Linked DNA regions of Homo sapiens: regions 2 and 3 are each linked to region 1. Evidence: promoter capture Hi-C in human tissues and cell types (Jung and others, 2019). All regions are on one chromosome and are shown on one strand. The core of a region is centred on a gene start or on the middle of the fragment in contact, and the rest is flanking DNA. Distances in the headings are between cores, read along the strand shown.

Region 1 (3,345 bases), core at 150-2,649:
AACATATCCTGCAGAACTACTCAAAGCTTAAAATATGGGGATATTGTCAGGCTTAGATGCTCATCGAAGGCAGTAACAAGCTTGAGGTAGGTGGACTAACCAAGACTGTCCTGGCAATGATCAAGCAACTTTCTGGGAAGAGCCCAGGGCAGACCCACAAAGTAGAGCTAGATTTGAACTGCTCCACCCTAGAGGAGTATCAGTCAGCCAGTATTCTCCCCAAACACAAGCCCAGTGAATTCATTTCCAAGGATAGGAGAGTTACATTTTGTTGCCTCCCATGTGTTTTGAGGGCTTGGGCCAAAGTGCAAGAATTTATGTAGATAACTTTCATCCAAATCAGTCTACTCAATGCTTGTTAAATAATTCATTCGGTGATGTGGCCAAGCATGCCTGGGTTGGTCCCATCTAGTCCCAATCCTTTTGGGACATAACCTGGCTCTAGGACACTCATCTTAAAGGAGCTAATACAAAACAGAAACCTTATCTCACTCTTGTCTCCGTTTAGACTGGTACTTGTCTAGCCTGACCTCACAGATGCCTCCTTCCATGTTTAAAAGATGCTTTCACTGTATTAGCACACATCACATCCTTCTTGCCTTGTGAAATTTATTTTAACAAAGGTGGGGGAAAAAGAACTCTCCTTTATTGAGCTCCAAATACCTGTCCAACTCTAGGCTAGGCAATTCTAAGAACATGATGATTTCTCAATCTCATGACAATACTGCAAGGTGGTTATTTCACAGACGAGAGAAGAAAAGCTAGAAAGTTAAATGCTCCAAGGTCATACAGATTGGAATCCTAATGGCTCTTCAAATCTCAAGTCCATGATCTTTGCACCCATAAGATGTTGTGAACCCAACGATAAACTTAAGCTTTGAAGACAGAGGTGGGTCTTGTCTTCTTTAGGAGGAGAGGAGAAATCAACCTCTCTCATTTTTTCTTTCCTGTAGGGCTCAGGGATGTGGAAGTTTAAGAGCAACGAAGGCTCCGCAGAGGATGAGGGAAGCTTCCAGAGGGCAGGAAGGAGGTCTGGACAGCCCAGTCTAGCAGGGGCAGAGCTGCGGCAGATGCCTTCCCAACGCACAGACATTGCAGAGTCCTGCTGGTCCCTGCTTTCCCAGGGCAAAGAACTGCCCCCATCCACGGCCCCCTCAACCTCCCTGCAGCCTGACATAAGACACTGGAGGTCACAACTGGAGGCTCAGAAGGCCAGCGAGGAGTTGTGAGCGGCAGACAGAGGGGAAGGCAGGGGGGCCAGGTGGGAGGTGGTCTGGTGCCAGGCTTGGGCCCAGTATGTAAGGGGTTGGGCAGGCCATGTGACTCCAAGGAGGCGGAGACAGGCGAGCTGGAGGGAGGACGAGCAGGCACGGGGAGGGGTTCGGGGGGTGGGGGCCCAATCTGAATAATTGAGGAGCTGTTCAGCAGCAGCGGCTGCCTCCTGCCTTCCTTTGCCGCCACCACCACTTCCCATCCCAGCTAGAGAGACAGCTCCGCGCAGTAAGTGCGGACTGCCAGCCACCAGCCTTGGCAGCCAGCTCGTCGCCTCCAGCCCCGACCCCGGTAAGTGAACGGCCCCCTTCGCTGCCGTTTGTCCCCCTCCGCGCCCCCCGCGCCCCAGCGGGACCCCTGCAACTGGGATGGCCGCCTCTCCCGGAATGACCCAGGGAGCCGGAGTCACCGGGAGCGGGGGACCAGGAATATGGCGCGGAGGCCCAGGGCGCCCTCCGAGAAGGGGTTCCCTGGAAGAACCGAGGAGGTGGGTCGGGCTCTTTCCTGCTCTGGCCCGGAATGAGGCCCCGACTGCCCGCGGTCTGGGGGCACCGGGCTCTGACTCGCGGGAGCTGCCGGGCGGGGCGGGGGCCAGCGCGGCTCCGGCGCCGCTAGAGCGGGAGGCAGAAGGGGAGCCGCGAGCGGAATGCGGGCAGCCTAGGTCTCGGCAGACGCCGGGCCCGTCCTGTCCCCCGCCTTGGCGCGCACCCCGCACGGGCAGCTCCGTTCTCCGCCTCGGACCGAGACCATGAAACGGAGACGCTTTTCCGGCCGCAGACTCCGGGGAGGTCGGGAGCAACGTCTGCCCTTTTACCTGGGAGCAAACTCCTCAAAGGGACTCCCGCCGAGCCCAGCACCCCGACCAGGATGGTGGCGCCCCGAGGGGCGTCTGTCCCCGGAGAGTGGTGACTCTCCCGGGAGCGGCGAAGAGGACGTGACGGGAGCGGTGTCCAGGGAAGCTCCCTGCCCAGAGCCGGCAGCCCCAGCAAGGGGAGCTCTCCTGCACTGCTTCAACCCTCAGTCTCCTCTCTTCTCCCATTCCAAAGCACATCAGCTCCCCTCTAATCCAAGAGGGCCAGGTTAGGGCTGCGTGGCCACGCGGGATGCAGCCCCCACCCTCCTTCTCTCTCCTGTGTCACCCTGCCCCCTCCCCAAATGAGTATTTTATATTGCGATTGAAGAGTGAGCAAAGCAAAGGCGAGAAGAGATGCAGGAAGGCTAGAGCAGCGGGGCTCGCTCCTGTTCTGGCACTCCTCATCCCCCCACCTGTGTGAAGCTCGTTTCCTTGAGATTTTGAGCGGAGACACTCAAAGGAACTGGCTCTGGCGAAGGGATCCCCGCCTGAGTGTCGGTGAACGTCACTGGCCCGAATTGCCCAAGGGCCGCAGGATGTCACCCTGCCTCCCCCTAGGTATAGGGTCTAGGAGAGCGCTGGGGGCAAGGTAGCTCTCCTCCTCCGACTGAGTGCAGGGAATGGCGCTGTCCGCGGTGCTGAAAGTTCTCAGAGGCTGGGTGCTAATACCGCCAGGGCCCACATTCCCTGCGAGCAGAAACTGCGTTAGAACCCTAAAGGGTTCTAAGCAAGCGACCTAGAGAAACAGGAGAAGAAGGGGCTTTGCCTTTCCCGGTTTTCTGCTTCCCCAGGACTCCGCTTGGGAAAAGGTTCCCGGCTTTCCTGAGTGGAAGAGCAGGAAGCGGGTGTCACTTCAGGATCCAGTTTTGCTAACTTCGGGAGCTTCCTCGTTCTACTTCCTATACCTGAGCAGTGAGACTTCCTGTCGGTAAAGTGTTGAAAGGCAGTTAGGGATGCTGTTTTGATAATAAACATTTCTGTGGCTTTCAGGAATCAGAGAATTGTTAGGCTACACAAAGGAGGGGCTTCATGGTTGTAGCTTTTTCCTCTTCTTAGAACCCTTCTTTCCCCACTGCATGTTATTTACATGCTCTAGATAAAGATCGCTAAGCAGCCCTGTATGTTTGTTTCTTTAGCTAGTCTTTTATATTATGGGCAAGATGGGGAAAGGATTGAGCCAATTTGGGGAGGCCTATTTGTACTGAACACCTCTATCTGCT
Region 2 (3,388 bases), core at 299-2,798, 150 kb after region 1:
TTCAATAAATTGTAATTGCCAAGTTCTCAGGGGACTCTAATGACAGCAGATAAGATAATCAAGACTGATCCTCTCGATGGTTACTGAGACAGAACCTGTTGTTCCACAGTTGTGCTGTCCAATCCAAAAGCCTCCAGCCACATGTGGCTACTGAACACTTGAAATGTGGCTGGTGTAAATGGAAATGTGCTGCAAGTGTAAAATACACGCTCTTCCAAAGACAATACAAAAACAAGGGCGTGAAATATCTCATCAATTGATTACATATTGAAATGATAATATTTTGGATGTACTGGATCAAATAAAATAAATTAATTTCACTTGTTTATTTTTAGCTTTTGAAATGTGGCTACTGGAAAATTTTAAACAGCTCACATCGTATTCCTAGTGGACAGTACTGTTCTAGAGGCACATCAACCTCTCCTCCATCAAACTGATACTAAACCTAACACTAGAGTTATGACCTCCAAATTGGGATTCCCTCATTAGTCAGGGAATGGTCAGCTAGGAGCGATTTGGGAGTCTCTCTTCTTACACGGAAGGGAAAAGTGGAGCTCATGCAGCAGCCCCCTTATGAGAGAAAACAAGCAGCAGCTCAGGGAAGGAGCGGGCGAGTCAATACATCCATAAGAGAGGAGACCCACTTAATGACACTTCTGACACAAGCTGGTGGTTGTGAGGAAAGGGATCATGGGGTCTGAAGCCTCCTCGTCCACTCCCTCAAACGCTTTTTGCTCCCTTCTGGTTCATAATCGTTATACCTTGACAACTTTTAATGAGGTAGGGAGAGTCCTCCAATGTAGTCACATGACTTTTATCCTTACAAAAGCTATATTATAATAGCTAAGCAAATATTTTAGTTAACATAAAAATTGTCTTCTATGGCCAGGCACGGTGGCTCACGCCTATAATTCCAACACTTCGGAAGGCTGATGCAGGAGGATCACTTGAAGCCAGGAGTTCCAGACCACCCCGGCCAACATGGCAAAACCCTGTCTCCACTAAAAATACAAAAATTAGCCAGGTGTGGTGGCACATACCTGTAGTCCCAGCTACTTGGGAGGCTGAGGCACAAGAATCGCTTGAACCCAAGGGGCGGAGGTTGCAGAGAGCCGAGATCGCACCACTGCTCTCCAGCCTGGGCAACAGACCGAGACTTCTTCTCAAAAAAACAAACAAAAAAAAGATTATCTTTTATGTATAAGTAATTTAGAAATGCTCTCCAACAGGTTATAATCAAAACTACACAAATTTCTGCAAAATGGCTAGCCCAAATTGGTATTTCCAAAGAGGAAATGTTTGCCAATTACTATACTATCAGCTAATGAAATTAGTATTTTATTTGAAAGAAGTCTGCCAAAATAGATTGCAATGTGTTTTCTTAGACCAGGCCCGTAACTTGATGAAGTTTCTGGAACAGAAAAACAAATAAAAATCAACTCAATGTGTCTTTGTCCAAAATGTCCAAACAGCTACATATGTATGTTTGAACGAAATGTATTTAGATATTATTACTTAAAGATCCAATAAAATAGGTTTCGTTAATTCTCTTTTTATACCTAGCCAATCAATTCCTTTACTAAGTGTTAGAAGTAGATGAAGGACATTAACTGCATAATGCTGAGAACTTTGTTTCTGATTGCTGCCCATTGATCGATGATTAAAGATGCCATAAAGTCACCCCACTTAAGAAACCTAGAGAGCACTGAGGTTATGCTTTCATGACCACAAATTACCACTGCAATACCGTGAATAAAATATAACTTTTTAATTATTCAAGGCAATGCAGAATTACTTGTTCTTGAATCACTGATCAGATTCCCTATAAATTACCAGTAGAGATTAATGAGATTTTTTTAAATCAATAATGATACCTCTGGATACAACAGAAGATTGAAGGCCAGTTTTGCAGACAGTCTGTTATTTTATTGCACAGATTTCACTTCAAGAATAAAATGCACCATCAGTATTTGGAGAGTTTGGGGTCTCAGATACTGATATACCATCAGTGTTTACACCCGTAAAGCCAAATTCAACAGTACAATTTATGTTAAACAACATCACTTCAAGATGGCTAACAATACAAATAGAGAGAAAAGTGGGGGAAAGCTTTAAAAATGTGTTAGTTTGAAGCATATGAAAATGTACGATTAAAAACTACATCATACAAACCTGAAATCAAAAATGTTTTGTGGAACATCAGTTAGAGTTATACTCACTTGCACTGTTATTTATTGCATAAAGTCTATGTGGTTCATTTCCTTCATATTGATGAATTGAGGATTTCAGGAAAACCATGGTTATAAAAATGATCAATCTTGAAAAAGTATGTACAGATAAATGTAAAATCACAAACTAAAAAATATCCCTACCCCTGGCCCTCAACTTACAAAAGGGAAAGTTTCCCATGGAAAGTTCGTTCCACTATTGCCCTCCCTCCCCCATCCCATGTCCCCAATGCTATCTTTTTCTGTCTCGTACAAGTAAATGACCTTGAAGGGAAGAAACAAAAGCCATCTTTATGAGGCTCCCATTGTCATCTGTATCAGTTTGAAAAGCATCTTGGCCGGTGTGGTGGCTCACTCCTATAATCCCAACACTTTGGGAGGCCGAGGCGGGAGGATACTTTGAGTCCAGGAGTTCGAGACCAACCTGGGCAACATAGGGAGCCCTCATCTCTATAAAAAACTTAAAAATTAGCTGGGTGTAGTAGTGAACGCCTGTAGTCCCAGCTACTTGGGAGGCTGAGGCAGGAGGATCACTTGAGCCGGGGAGGTTGAGGCTACATGAGCCGAGATCACACCACCGCACTCCAGCCTGAGCAACAGAGTGAGGCCCTATTTAAAAAAAAAAAAAAAAAAAAAAAAAAAAAAGTATCTTGTATTTCTCTTCCCCACCCCCACCTAACTCAGTGATGTTTGCAAAACATTTGAAATTTAAAGAAACAAAATATATATAATATATTTTTAATAAACAGCAAAAGAATGCCCAAGAAAAGAGCTAATAGGGGCAACACCAAGGGAAAAAAATGTCTGGGCATTATCTGAGCTAGAGATTTCTTTTAAGGCAACCAAAAGATGGGGGAAATGGGGAGAAGTTAAGACTACAAAATGCCAGACAGGATGCTTTTCTAGACCTTTGGCTTTAGAGCCTGGCAGAGGAATGGGCTTCCCCACACTGTGACGAGCAAACCTAGGGCCCTGGGCCCAGCATCTACAGCACCTCTGTGGGCAGCCGGGCAGCCCTCTTATACGTGGGCACTCTTCGCATGAGTCGGGGAGCTAGAGCCCGCAGTGTAGTAGAAACGGTTTTCACCAAAGGCCTGGGCATCTCCAGCGCAGCAGAGGATGACACAGCCACCCACGAGGCACAGCACAGCACCAATCCA
Region 3 (3,209 bases), core at 267-2,766, 180 kb before region 1:
CCTGAGCATCCTCTTTGTGCAAAGACAGATGACCACTGGACTGAGACGTTTCTGCCATTGTTTCTGCCTGAGGTCTGAGTCAGAACCCTTCCTCGAGCACCTGCTCTGTGTCCAGGATTCTGCTATACACTTGGTGTAGGGACTCACAGGAAGAAAAGATGCAGCACAGTCCTTCAGCATTCCTGAATGGCCTCTGTACAGGGAGGCTGCTCATGAATGTCCTAAAATATCTGCTCTCAAGTCAATCTTGCCTCCTCCAATCCACTCTCCATACAGCAGCCTGAGTAGCCTTCCAATACCAATCAGATGAGAGTCATTATCCCAGCTGAAACCCTTCAGTGTCTTGCTCTGAGTAACTTGGGATAAAGTCCAGCTTTTCTTTTTCTTTTTTTGAGATGGAGTTTCGCTCTGTCGCCCAGACTGGAGTGCAGTGGTATGATCTCTGCTCACTGCAACCTCCGCATCCCGGGTTCAAGCGATTCTCCTGTCTCAGCCTCTTGAGTAGCTGGGACTACCGGTGCACCCCAACATGCCCGGCTAATTTTTTGGATTTTTAGTAGAGATGGGGTTTCGCCATGTTTGCCAGGTTGGTCTCAAACTCCTGATCTCAGGTGCTTTGTCCGCCTTGACCTCTCAAAGTGCTGGGATTACAGCATGAGGCACCACATCCAGCCAAAGTCCAACATTTTAAATATGATTTATTCCTTGCCTAACCTTTCCAGCTCCATCTCTTACCTCCCGCTTAGAGCTCTGGCTGTGAGCAACATTTTACCTTCCTTAAACACACCTGTCCCCTTGTGCTGAGGCTCATCTCTGAGCCTTTCCATCTGCTGCTTCGGCTGCCTCACATTCCCACCCTCCCTTTCCTGCCCCTCATCGCCTGGAAATCCCCATTCATCCCTAATGTCTCCAGACTAGGTCCTCTTCTATATAGTTCTACACAAGAGTCTTCAACTCAAATACGTTCAGGTGCAAGACTGATAAATCAGACAGGTGAAACTGACTCTATATGAGACAATTCAGAGTAGAGGAGAGTAGCAAATGGTAGAGTGCATCCTTTTCTAAATAGACAGTCATTGTCTCAGCTCCAGGCAAGTGTTGCCATTTGGGACTACAAGCCTACTTTTGCCATCTTTTCTTATTTTTAAAGAGACATTAGAAATCTATATTTTTATTGGAAATGCCTCGATGTTTAACATGCTCTGTGGGCCCAGATGTGGCCTGTTAACCATCCAATGAAATATAGATTTGCTTTAGTTGTCTTCTCTGCAGAGTCTGTTTCTCAAACTGTAGTGAGCACGTCCTCAAAATGCAGAGATTTAGGCCTCACTTTCAGAGGGAGGCAGATTTGGGGGAGGCAGGAAGACAGAGGTGGCAGTCTGTGTTGTTCATTGTTTTATGGTACTTACAATGCCTAGCATGGGATCTAGGGCATAGCGGGTGCTCCAAAAATTACTGGTTGAATAACACATCCTAAGTTGAAGTATCGAACCTGGCCTAGTTCACAAGCTGCTGCCTCTCAAATCACCAAGACTAGTTGGGAATGAGTTGAGAGGAACTGACGCCGGCTACCACCAGCCCTCCCAAATTCCCTCCTATTTTTAGTTTCTGGAATTGAGGTTTATCCAGATATGGTACTGGATGAGGTAAAACCATGAGCATTTAGGGCATTGTATCTTTTTCCCTGACCAATTTAGATTTTTCTAGAATCAGTTGCTGAGGAAAGAGATGAGTAGTTTCACAGACAGGACAGTGAAAATCAGAAGGTGGTCTGCTTGGCAGCCCAGGGAGGGAATTCTAACCTCCTCCTAAGCTTTTCTCTGCTGGGTCCGGATTTCAAGGTGTCTCCATATACATGAGGGCATGTCCACCTGGGTGGTAAAAAATGTCATCTTGCATGGACAGCCTGGAGTCCATCTGGGAAGACTCCCTGCAGTGCACTCCACACTAAAGGTGGGAAAACTACCTCTTGTAAACCAGATTATTTAGTTGTAAGCTATTCTGTGCTTATTTACTTTTAATTTTCATTACAAGGCCTTTAGCACAGTCTTGCTTAAATGTTCCAGCCTTATCTGGAAGGGGAGACACCTCAATATAAGCAGCACCCTTTAGGTGCCAACTGGTGGCAGCAGTAGAGACGGAGCAGTATGGTCCTAGAGTGCTTGTTAGAAATGCACATGCCCAGGCCTCCTGCCCTCCCCTAGACCTGCCTCCTTCTGGGAGTGAGGCCTAAATCTCTGCATTTTGAAGACATGCTCACTACAGTTTAAAAAGCACTGCCTGGCCCAGCGCAGTGGCTCATGCCTATAATCCTAACACTTTGGGAGGCTGAGGCGGGTGGATCACTTGAGGTCAGGAGTTCGAGACAAGCCTGGCCAATATGGCAAAACCCCATCTCTACTAAAAATACAAAAATTAGCAGGGCGTAGTGGCACATACCTGTAATCCCAGCTACTCAGGAGGCTGAGACAGGAGAATCACTTGAACCCGGGAGGTGGAGGTTGCAGTAAGCCGAGATTGCGCCCCTGCACTCCAGCCTGGGTGACAGAGTGAGACCCCATCACAGAAAATAAGTAAATAAATAAATAGCACTACCTAAGGAGAAGAGTAAGGGGAGGTGAATTTTTCCCTCCTTCGTGTCTACCTTGTAACTTTGAGGTTTCATTTTGTCCAGGAAGATGGCAGGTATTTTTTTCTGGGGCAGAGATAATGCTTATTTCCTGAATGTGTCACACGGCATGATCTAATAAAGGCACACTTGGCTAAATGGTCCTAATGATTTGGACCTTTGCGCAAGGCGTCAATTTCAGCTCTGTTGCTCACTTATGCTCTCACCTGAGACTTTGGTGGGCTTATTTTGTCAATAAATATGTGGACCAAGACCCTGTAAGTAGGCCATTTCACAGTCATCCTCTTGTCTGTCTTCCTAGCAGTCAACCGCAGGAACAGACTGTTCAAGTGCATAAAAAGAGACATGTAGTGACACTCAGCAGGGAAGTAGGTCTTTTCTAAATAAGCAGCTTCATTGTTTTCCTGCTCTGTGTGGTGTTTACAGCATGGGAGGCTGACCAGCTCAGTTGACTCAGAAACAGAAAGAAAAATCAGGGAGCTGGGAGCTGGGGAGTTGTCTCAGTCCCTGCCTCACTGTGTGGTCTGTGGTGAAGTCCTCTGCCACCCCCCTCCACCCTGACACCCTGTAACGAGAAGGA

Evidence for each region. The method cuts DNA at HindIII sites, captures the fragments that hold promoters and counts their contacts. A contact is called where the count stands out against the background at its distance.
Region 2: a fragment that was not itself captured here is called in contact with the fragment with the promoter of SLC7A14 in region 1 in 3 of the 25 tissues and cell types used here (mesenchymal stem cells, psoas muscle and thymus).
Region 3: a contact is called between a fragment that was not itself captured here and the fragment with the promoter of SLC7A14 in region 1, in 2 of the 25 tissues and cell types used here (H1 embryonic stem cells and pancreas).

What each region holds. Positions count from the first base shown.
Region 1 is chr3:170,584,129-170,587,473 of GRCh38, reverse strand. SLC7A14 (solute carrier family 7 member 14) reads left to right here and starts at 1,399. Exons shown (of 8, transcript NM_020949.3): 1 at 1,399-1,563. The region is part of intron 2 of SLC7A14-AS1 (SLC7A14 antisense RNA 1); the gene reads right to left. RefSeq lists a silencer at 2,620-2,914. The HindIII fragment of the contact is 10,108 bases long and covers 479-3,345 here.
Region 2 is chr3:170,432,616-170,436,003 of GRCh38, reverse strand. CLDN11 (claudin 11) reads right to left here. Exons shown (of 3, transcript NM_005602.6): 3 at 1,313-3,388. The coding sequence ends at 3,248. Among named protein-coding and RNA genes, the nearest start is that of MIR6828, 11 kb to the right of the region's middle. The HindIII fragment of the contact is 3,764 bases long and covers 1-3,388 here.
Region 3 is chr3:170,768,552-170,771,760 of GRCh38, reverse strand. LOC105374211 (a long non-coding RNA gene) reads right to left here. Exons shown (of 3, transcript XR_924701.2): 1 at 2,836-3,209. Among named protein-coding and RNA genes, the nearest start is that of RPL22L1, 100 kb to the left of the region's middle. The HindIII fragment of the contact is 5,790 bases long and covers 1-3,209 here.